3 separate regions of the Homo sapiens genome follow, and regions 2 and 3 are each linked to region 1. Evidence: promoter capture Hi-C in 16 types of primary human blood cells and fetal thymus (Javierre and others, 2016). All regions are on one chromosome and are shown on one strand. Each heading gives the region's core, a stretch centred on a gene start or on the middle of the fragment in contact. The rest is flanking DNA. Distances are from core to core; before and after follow the strand shown. Region 1 holds the start of CXCL14 (C-X-C motif chemokine ligand 14). Region 2 has its middle 13 kb from the start of MIR5692C1. Region 3 has its middle 58 kb from the start of MIR5692C1.

Region 1 (3,146 bases), core at 351-2,850:
AGGTGTCTGTGAAGGAAGGCAGTGGGGTCAGCTCAGTTCCAGTGGATTTCTGAATTCCCCTAATTTCAGCCTGACAGTGTAGCCCCTAGACGGGGATGGGGGGTGCTGGGTAGGGGTGTGCACTGCTTTCGCAGACACTGTGAAGGCCTTTGCGCCGGTGGGGGCCAGCTGGTGGAGGGCACTTGCCCAGACTGAGAATAAAGTGCGTCCTGTTTCTGGGGGAGGGGAAGAGGGGCCAATGGTCTGTGGCAAATATTTGGTAGCCGCTTTGCCAAGGGCTCCCTTCCTGGCCAAGAGCATATTGATGAGGAGGCAGCGGTGCTGGCCTCAAGTGGTTAATTGGGAAGGCGGAGGAGCAAGAAACTAAGTGTTCTCTCACTCTGCCCCAGTTTTTCCAACATTCCCCACATCCCCACCAAGCAGGGCTCCAGCCATGTGGCACATTAACCCCAGCAGAGCACTTTCTGCAGTACTGCTCCGTATTGGGGACCCACAAGGAGTACAGTCGGTGAGGGAAGCTCGTGGAGCGTTCTCAAAATAAAATCTCTAGGAGCCAAAAACTTGCGGTCCACTTGTCTCTGACTGGAACAAGGCTCTGAAGGAGACTCAGGATTTAAGATAGTGTTTGCATTAGTCCTCTATCCAGTGACAGGAAGGCAGCACGCCTCACAGTTTGGGTGTGAGTGTGTTTTAAGTGATTTCAGTCTAGGTTTTCTGAGTTGGCACAAGGGAACCCTTTAACCCTTGATGGCCCTAGCAGAGTGGGTGGCCCATGGTACAAATAGGGAGACTGCTCATTTGAATCCTAGCAAGGGTGAACTTGGAGGCGCTGTTCCGGAGCGGGACAGTGACCCCCCTTCCCGACTGTCTTCCAGAGTGTCTCGCCAGCGTCCTAAGGACTCTCTGGGCAATTACAAAGGCTTTTCCAGGGCCTTGACAAAGTCGGAGAGAAATGTTTGTTAGCCCGACCCAGGCCCAGGCTGTGCCCTGGCATTGGGTTGACAGCAGTGCGCACCCCCTCAAGGTGAGGAGCGAGAACTCACATAACCATCTTCTCCTCGCAGTGCGGGTACTTTGGCTTCATTTCCAGCTTCTTCACGTCGCTGTAGCGGATCTTGGGTCCCTTCCGGGAGCACTTGCATTTGGACCCTGCGAGCGAGCGCGGGGCAACGGCTTAGTTGCTAGGCGGTCTCCTGCCCCTCGACCACCTTGGTGCCCACCCAGACCACCCCCCGCGGGATCCCAGGATGCCTAGAAATTGGCGCTTGGGTTCCCCAGGACAGGACAAGACGAGACGGCGACAAGGGGAGCTCCCCGCACTCACCGTCCACACGCGCGGTGTACAGCGCCAGCAGCAGCAGGAGCAGCGCGGCCGCCAGGAGCCTCATGCTGACCGGAGGGGCGCGGCGTGGGAGCAGGGACATGGGGAGGGCGCTGGCCCGTCGGAGCGGCGGCCCGGAGACGCCACCCAGCTCTGCTCGGCTTTCTCTGCCCGGGGCGCGCCTTCCGGCTCTGCTGGCTCCGGCTGCGCCGTCGGTGGATGCCCAGGGCTGTCTGTGGCCGTGCGCTGCGCTCTGCGCTTGTCTCCGCGCTCTCTCCACAGCCTCCCTCCGCCCGCCCTGGCCTCTTTTAAATCCGCTCCTGCCCTCGCAGCGAGCGAGCTCATTAATATGCAGAACCACTCGGTGACTCACTGAGATTTCTCAATGTGGTGAGGGGAGGAGACCTTCCCAGCCCGCCCGTCGCCCGCCCCGGGAAAGGACCCGCTATCGCAGCGGCGCACACCCGGAGCCACGCGCGCACACGCACACACACATCCGCTACCCTCTCGCTCACACAACACGCCGCCTTCGCACACTTGCACACCCATACCACAGCGCGCACACATTTCCAGCGTCCCGCTCTGCCTTTGGGGAGCCCAGACGGTGGAGAGGCTGCTGAAGGGCACTGCTTTTCTGAATCGTGTGGTTCTCTCTCTGGCCCGGCAGGCCAGCTTTTCCGAGCCGGCGGGAGACCCAGGCCCAGGGCTCAGATCCTCAAAGACCTGAAAGGGTTTTGGAGCAGGTGCCAAGTGTGAGTGCCTGCAGGCCTGACCCCCAAGGGCCCCTGCTGGGCCAGAACACAAGGCCAGTTCTGGACAGGGGCTTGTCATAGACTGTCCAGCAGCAAAGTCATTGACTGTGATCACTGGAACTGACTCAAAGAGGGTATGTGTGTGTATGCGGGGGTGGGGACGGGTATTGGGGAGGAGTTTTGGTGACTCCCAAAGGAAAGCTCCTTAAAGTGGGTCAGTGGCCTGGTGGCTGTGTGAGTGTCTGGGTGGTGGGGAGAACCAGGAGGAGTCCTCACTCTCACACTACTCTCCAAAGCCAGGTAGAGAGCCCTAGTGGAGAGCGATGACAGTGGTAACCATCTGGATGAAGGCCTTCCCATGTTCTAGACATTGTGCCAGAATGCGAGGTATAGTGGTGTGAGCCCAGCCATAGTGGCAGAAATTCCCTCCTCACTACTTTCCAGCACAAGTGACTTTACCGCTCTCAGCTTTTGTTTCATCATCTGTAAAGTGCAGATCATCACAGTGTTTCTGATAGGGTGGCTGTGAGAACTATAGAAATCATACATGTTGTCAGTACCCAGGAAATGTTACTTATTGGCACCATCGTTTTATGTCTAATTTATCTATTACTTTGATTCTTACCAATTGGTACTTTTCTTCCAAGTTGGTACTTTTAATTTCTTTATTTGACAGGTGTGGAAACATGCTCTGAGAGAAGAAATAACTTGTCCAAGGTCACAGAGCTAGGAAGCAGGTGACTAGGCCAGGAGGGTCCTCAGTATATACGGCTGCAGAACTGGGACTCCTGTCCCTGGACCACTCTGTTGCTTTGAGGCCTGTCTGCCCTTCACTTCTTGCTGCCTTGAGAGACCCAGAGACAGGAGGTGGATCATCTCAAGCTCTTGGAGTCCCTGGGCTTGGCTGTCAGGAGAGAGCTCACCCAGCTCTATGCCATCAGCCTGGCAGTTCCCTGGAGGCAAAAATGCCCAGAGGGCTTCTGGATGATGGGGACAGTCTGCTGAAGGGTGCAATGGGAAGAATCTGTGTCGTCTCTTCCCAACTGGAGAGCCCTTGCTGCTTCAAGAAGAAG
Region 2 (3,146 bases), core at 225-2,724, 240 kb after region 1:
CCCAGGACAGTAGGAATGTCAAACATCCTGCCTGTGCTGTCCTCACCTGCTTCTTCCAGGATGGGTCAGATGGTCCCTGTTACACAGACAAAATATGAGTCATCAGAAAGGCTAGTGTCCCTCTCCTTCTAGATGGTGCAGTCTGTCTGGGCAGCAAGCATGCTTTTCCTGCAGAGTAGGGGCTAGAAGCACAGGCTCCGGAGTCAGAGGGACCTGGGACCAGGCACCCAGACACACTGACCTCAAGTGCCGCATCTCCAGGATGGTGCTCTGAATCCCCAGCCCTGGTGTGATGACAGTTACATGTGAGAGTATGCTTAAACTGTTTCCTTGGCACAGTTCCTGGTGCTGATTCCCACCTCCATCATTCTACAGCCCTGGACAAGTCATCGTTTGTCTCAGCTGGATCATCCAGGCTGGTCTCTGGGCATGAAGGCCTAGTGAGGATTCAGTGAGGCCATGGGGCCATGGGAGGCCACTGCCTCGTGAACTGGCAGGGCCTTACTGTGATGGGCCCACAGAGTACTGTGGGTTCTGCTAGACCAGATGCTGGAGCTGTGGGCCTTTTGTTACCTCCCAGTTTGATTAAGTTTCATCTTACACAGTGAATTATGTGCATTTCCTCTTGGGCTCTGTGCTGGCTGGGATAACTGAGGGCCTGCTATGGAGATCCTGGAACCCTGACTTTCACAGCATCTGTGAGGTGGATGTACTCTAAAGCAGCGGTCCCCAACCTTTTTGGCACCAGGAACCAGTTTGGTGGAAGACCACTTTTCCACAGAGAGGGGGAAGGCATGGTTGTGGGATGAAACAGTTCCACTTCAAATCATCAGGCATTAGTTAGAGTCTCATAAGGAGCATGAAACCTAGATCCCTCACATGCACAGTTCACAACAGGGTTTGTGCTCCTATGAGAATTTCATGCCCCCCACTGATCTGACGGGAGGTGGAGCTCAGGTGGTAATGTTCTCTTGCCAGCTGCTCACCTCCTGCTGTGTGGCCTGGTTCCTAAAAGGCCACAAATCAGTACCAGTCCATGGCCTAGGGGTTGGGGACCCCTGCTATAAAGGCACCAAAAGCTGCTTGCAGGTAAGGAAGAGCATCAACCACACAGAAAGGCCTGAGGGGCTGCCTTTGAACTCTCTCTATGTATGGGTAAGGGCAAAGGCTAGCACATATTGTGGAATGAAGAAAGCAAGTTGCAGTGAGAGTTTCCTTTATGTAAAATTAGTTCTATCCATCCATGTCTACAGATGCACATGGACACAGGGGCAGGCCTGGAGCCACATTCACCAAGCCAGAAGGGATACGTGTAGTCAGTGCACCTTCCCAGAGTGCAGATATTCTCTGTCACCTGCATGTTCTTGCCATATCTGATTATGACCTGTAATACAGATATTTAAACAGACTCATATTTTTATTTTAAAAAAATCTACTCACTCTTGTCCCAAGCAAAAGTATCTGAAAAATCATGGCTTAGATGTTGTATTAGTCTATTTTCACACTGCTGTGAAGATACTACCTGAGACTGGGTAATTTATAAACAAAAGAGGTTTAATTGACTCACAGTTCCATATGGCTGGGGAGGCCTCAGGAAACTTACAGTCATGGCGGAAGGTGAAGGGAATTAGGTGCCTTCTTCGCATGGTGGCAGGAGAGAGAGAGCGTGCAGGGAAAGCTGCTATTTTTAAAACCATCAGATCTCGTAAGAACTCCCTCACTATCACAAGAACAGCACGGGGGAAACCATCCCCATCATCCAATTACCTCCCACCAGGTTCCTCCCTCAACATGTGGGGATTACAATTGGAGATTAGATTTGGGTGGGGACACAGAACCAAACCATATCAGATGTGGTAACTATATTTTTTCTAACATATATTACATAAAATATATTACATTAATTTGCTACTAAAATAAAAACAGTTAACCTGTGTGTCATCTAAAATCGTTTTTCATATAGTGCTTTTGTACAACTGGCAAAGTGATTAAACACTTCGCTTCAGAATCCAACTACCAAAATTTGAATTCCAGCCCTGCCATTTGCTACTGTCTATTACTCAATAAATTCTTACCCTCTCTAAACCTCATTTTCTTATCTTTACATAGGGATGATCATTGGTAACTACCTGATAAGATTATTCATAAGAAATAAAATAATCAATGAAGAATGACTAGTGTAGTTTCTGGCACAGAGTAACCACTCAAATAAATGAGACTGTTAAAAGTTGGTTATTAGGGACTTCTGCTTATAGTCATGGTGAGGTAACTGGTACTAGATTTGCCCTCCCACTATAAACAACAAGAAAACTGAATAAAATAAGAAACCACTATTTAAAGATGATGGAAAACAGAAAACACAGGACAATGATCCAAAGAGAAAGAGAACAAATGAGGTGAGCCCTAAAATTACCTCAGCTTTCAACCTGAAGGCATTCTTTAGAATGTAACATTGTATTTGACAATTTCACTGTACACAATTAGATCTCAATAAAACCAGCTAAAAAAGAGAGACATAAAAACCCCAAAATATTTAGAGATAAATTTAACATATATGAAACTGCAGAGGACCTAGAATATATTTTTGTTTATATTGTAAAAATATAAAAATGTATTTTAGAAAGAGCAAAGTTGGCAGACTATCCTAGCTATCAAGGAATATAGCAAATTTATAGCAGCAGTGCTCAATGGGGCCAATTTCCCCCCCAGGGAACATCTGGCAAAGTTGGGAGACATTCTTTATTGTCATTACTCTGGAGGGAGGAGAGCAGTATGATATTGGCATCTAGTAGGTAGAGGCCAGAGATGCTGCTAAACATCCAACAGTGCACAGGACAATGGCCCGAAACAAAGAATTATCTGGCTTAAAGTATCAATAGTGCCAAGGCTGAGAAACTGTGATCCACAATAAGGCAGTGAGTAGAGATCAATGGAACAGAATAGACAATCCAGGTATGAATCCACATGTATATTACTGATTTTTGACAAATATGCCAGTGTATATCAATGAGGGAAAGAAAAGTCTTTTCAGCCAGTGAGGCACAATAGCTATCCAAATGGAAAATATAGATAAATCTTGCTCCCAAACTCAAATAGCATCAATGAACTCAAATGGAATCACAGGCCTAAATATAAAAGCTGAGGCT
Region 3 (3,146 bases), core at 181-2,680, 170 kb after region 1:
AATGTGGAGGGTGAGAAACCCTGATAGATAGCAGGCACGTACTAAGTATCTGTCAATGAAACTATCTCATTTCAAATCCTTAACACACGAGGTATAATGGAAAATAAAATGTCTCATTACTGCTCAAATTCAAGTGAAAGTTAAGCCTGGAAACCTCCCAACACTGCTGTCCTCCTCCCCATCAACAGACAGCTGTTACTTCCCAACCTTGGATCAAAGCATTCTACATTAACTAGACCCCTGCAAAAGGCCAAAGGCCTCATGCATCTCCATCGTGGGATGACTGCCCTCACAAATTGCTCCTAAGGAGCTTCTTTGATGGCCCCTAAACCTTTGAAGATGAATATCCTCCCATAAACAAGGACATGTTAACTGTAACTTTAGGACTGTAACCTCAGTCTAACTCCTTGTCTGCTACTGATGTCTGTTAAATGTCACATTGATGATGTCCATCCATTACAAGCTTATCTTCTCACATGCCAAACAAAGACAGGATAAGATTAATCCTTCCTCTCCTACCCTGAGACATCTAATTAATTCTTCTTTTACTCCCTCTTTTGAATGTTTACCTTATCTTCTGTATAGCATAGATATACTGGGCTCTAATTTAAACCTCACAGGAATTTAACTAACTGCCTCAAGGCCTACTGCACTTTTTCCTGCATGCTTTTTCCCCTTTTAAAGAAATATATAAACACGAGCCTCCTGGAACCTCTCCAGGGAGCACAGGCCACAGACATTTCTGTGTTTTCCAGAGCATGCCCTCAAGCTCTGGCTCAATAAACCTCCACTGGTAGAGATGGTTCAGTCTCTCCATTGGATTGACAAGGTAACTATTTTTCTCTCCATTTTTTTTTTCTTTTGAGACAGGGTCTCACTCTGTCACCCAGGCTGGGGGGCAGTGGCATGATCTCAGCTCACTGCAACCTCCACCTCCCCAGTTCAAGTGATCCTCCCACCTCAGCCTCAAGAGTAGGCACGCATCACCATGCCAGCTAATTTTTGTGTTTTTAGTAGAGACAGGTTTCACCATGTTGGCCAGGCTGGTCTTGAACTCCTGACCTCAAGTGATCCACCTGCCTCGGCCTCCTAAAGTGCTGGGATTACAGGCGTGAGCCACCGCACTTGGCCTGTCTCCATTTTTGATGAGGAACCAGAAGCTCAGAGAGGTTATGACTATTGCTGATGGTCACACCACATGGACCCAAGAATCAAACCCAACTCTCTCTTTGAACTCCTTCAAGATTCTCCCCCTTGGCTGGGTGTGGTGGCTAACACCTGTAATCCCAGCTTTGGGAGGCTGAGGCAGGCAGATCACCTGAGGTCTGGAGTTCAAGACCAGCCTGGCCAGCATAATGAAACCCTGTCTCTACTAAAACTACAAAAATTAGCCAGGAGAGGTGGCGGGCATCTGTAGTCCCTGCTACTGGGGAAGCTGAGGCATGAGAATCACTTGAAACCAGGAGGCGGAGGTTGCAGTGAGCTGAGATCATACCACTGCACTCCAGCCTGGGCTACACAGTGCCGAGACCAGCTCGGTTGTGGAGACCCTAACCCAGCAGTGCTAGAGGAATTAAGACAAAGACACAGAAATAGAGTGCAGAGTGGGAATCAGGGGGCTGACAGCCTTCAGACCTGAGAGCCCCGAACAGAGTTTGACCCACATACTTATTGACAGCAAGCCAGTGATAAGCATTATTTCTATAGATCATAGATTAGCTGAAAGCATTCCTTATGGGAAACAAAGGGACAGGCTCTGGCTTGTTATCTGCAGCAGGAACATGTCCTTAAGGCACAGATCGCTCATGCTATTGTTTGTGGTTTAGGAACACCTTGAGCGGTTTTCCACCCAGGGTGGGCCACGTGTTCCTTGCCCTCATTCTGGTAAACCAACAACCTCCAGCGTGGGTGTCATAGCCATCACAAGCATGTCACAGTGCTGCAGAGATTTTGTTTATGGCCAGTTTCTCATGGCCTGTTTATGGCCAGATGTGGGGGGCCTGTTCCCAGCAACACAGCAAGATTCCCTCTGGAAAAAAGGCCAGCGGGGGTGGTGGGAAGAAAAAAAAAGATTCTCCCCCTGCCTCCTGCTTTTTAAGGTCCTTCTGAGCAGGCTCCTAAGGTCCTCCCATCCTTGAATCTGTGCTTCACAGCACTTAAAGCTGTGGTGGTTTAGTTGCTAGCTCACGTGTTTATATTTCCCCTGTTAAGCTAAACTCCACTAGGGCAGTGACCATGCCTGATCCCCAGCTGTGTCCCCAGCACAGCACAGTACCTACGAGGCGGTCAACACACTTCTGTTGAATGAACGGAAGAATCACTCCTCAAAAGGAAGAAAATTATGTCAAGAAAATAGCTGGCAGAGCCAGGATTTAAGTCTGAGGACTCCCTGACTTTGAAGCTTATCCCATTTTCTCTGTGGTCAGTTATTGTCACTCAAACTTCTGTCCCGGATCCTCTTAATTAATGTCCCTTCTGATGCTGCACAGGTTAGTCTTGGCCTCCATCCGTGCCACATCCTTTGCTCTCGCCTTCTACAGTCCTCCTCCCTGTCACTCATTTCAAGCTCCGCCCTCACGCTGCCTACTTTTCATGCTCAGCGCCCTCTAGGCCCCACTCCTCTCCGTATACAATACCTTCTAGCCCGTACCCATCACTCATTCTGCAGATCCCGCTCCCTCCCTCCCATGTGCAGCCTTTTCCAGGCCTGCGCCTCTCACTTCCTGTTGAGGCCTTGCCTTTTTCTTACCCGGGTCTGGGGTAGCCCCCACTCCAGAAGTGCACAGCCGCTGGTTGGGGCATCCCTGACATGAAGCACCTTGGCCTCCCTGGGCACTGAGGGCCCCTGGAAAGTCTGCACAGAGACAAGACCACAGTTACAGCAGCTCGCTACAGTTTTGCCCTGCCACCCACGCCTCCTCCAGGAACTCACGTGAGGCACCTTCTCCATTCTGTCGCCTTTGCTGCCTTTGTGGTCACCGGAACTGCTGTCGTGCATTTCCGCCTTGCAGGTACAATCCGATTCTCCGGTGCAAAATAAGTCTCCAAAAGAGAGGGCTGTGGGCACGCGTGAACCTTGGGCGGAGCGACTGGGACTCACTTCTGTTCCTTTTCAGGGATTTCCTATCATACATACTTCGGCAGTG

Evidence for each region. The method cuts DNA at HindIII sites, captures the fragments that hold promoters and counts their contacts. A CHiCAGO score of 5 or more calls a contact.
Region 2: a contact is called between a fragment that was not itself captured here and the fragment with the promoter of CXCL14 in region 1, in 1 of 17 cell types (erythroblasts). The highest score is 5.4, in erythroblasts.
Region 3: a fragment that was not itself captured here is called in contact with the fragment with the promoter of CXCL14 in region 1 in 3 of 17 cell types (M2 macrophages, M1 macrophages and megakaryocytes); the score reaches 6.3 in M2 macrophages.

Annotation. Positions count from the first base shown.
Region 1 is chr5:135,577,391-135,580,536 of GRCh38, forward strand. CXCL14 (C-X-C motif chemokine ligand 14) reads right to left here and starts at 1,601. Exons shown (of 4, transcript NM_004887.5): 1 at 1,325-1,601; 2 at 1,044-1,149. The coding sequence starts at 1,388. It also overlaps a transcript of SLC25A48 not described here. The HindIII fragment of the contact is 10,061 bases long and covers 1-3,146 here.
Region 2 is chr5:135,814,426-135,817,571 of GRCh38, forward strand. It overlaps a transcript of SLC25A48 not described here. Among named protein-coding and RNA genes, the nearest start is that of MIR5692C1, 13 kb to the left of the region's middle. The HindIII fragment of the contact is 6,572 bases long and covers 1-3,146 here.
Region 3 is chr5:135,743,506-135,746,651 of GRCh38, forward strand. It overlaps a transcript of SLC25A48 not described here. Among named protein-coding and RNA genes, the nearest start is that of MIR5692C1, 58 kb to the right of the region's middle. The HindIII fragment of the contact is 1,938 bases long and covers 462-2,399 here.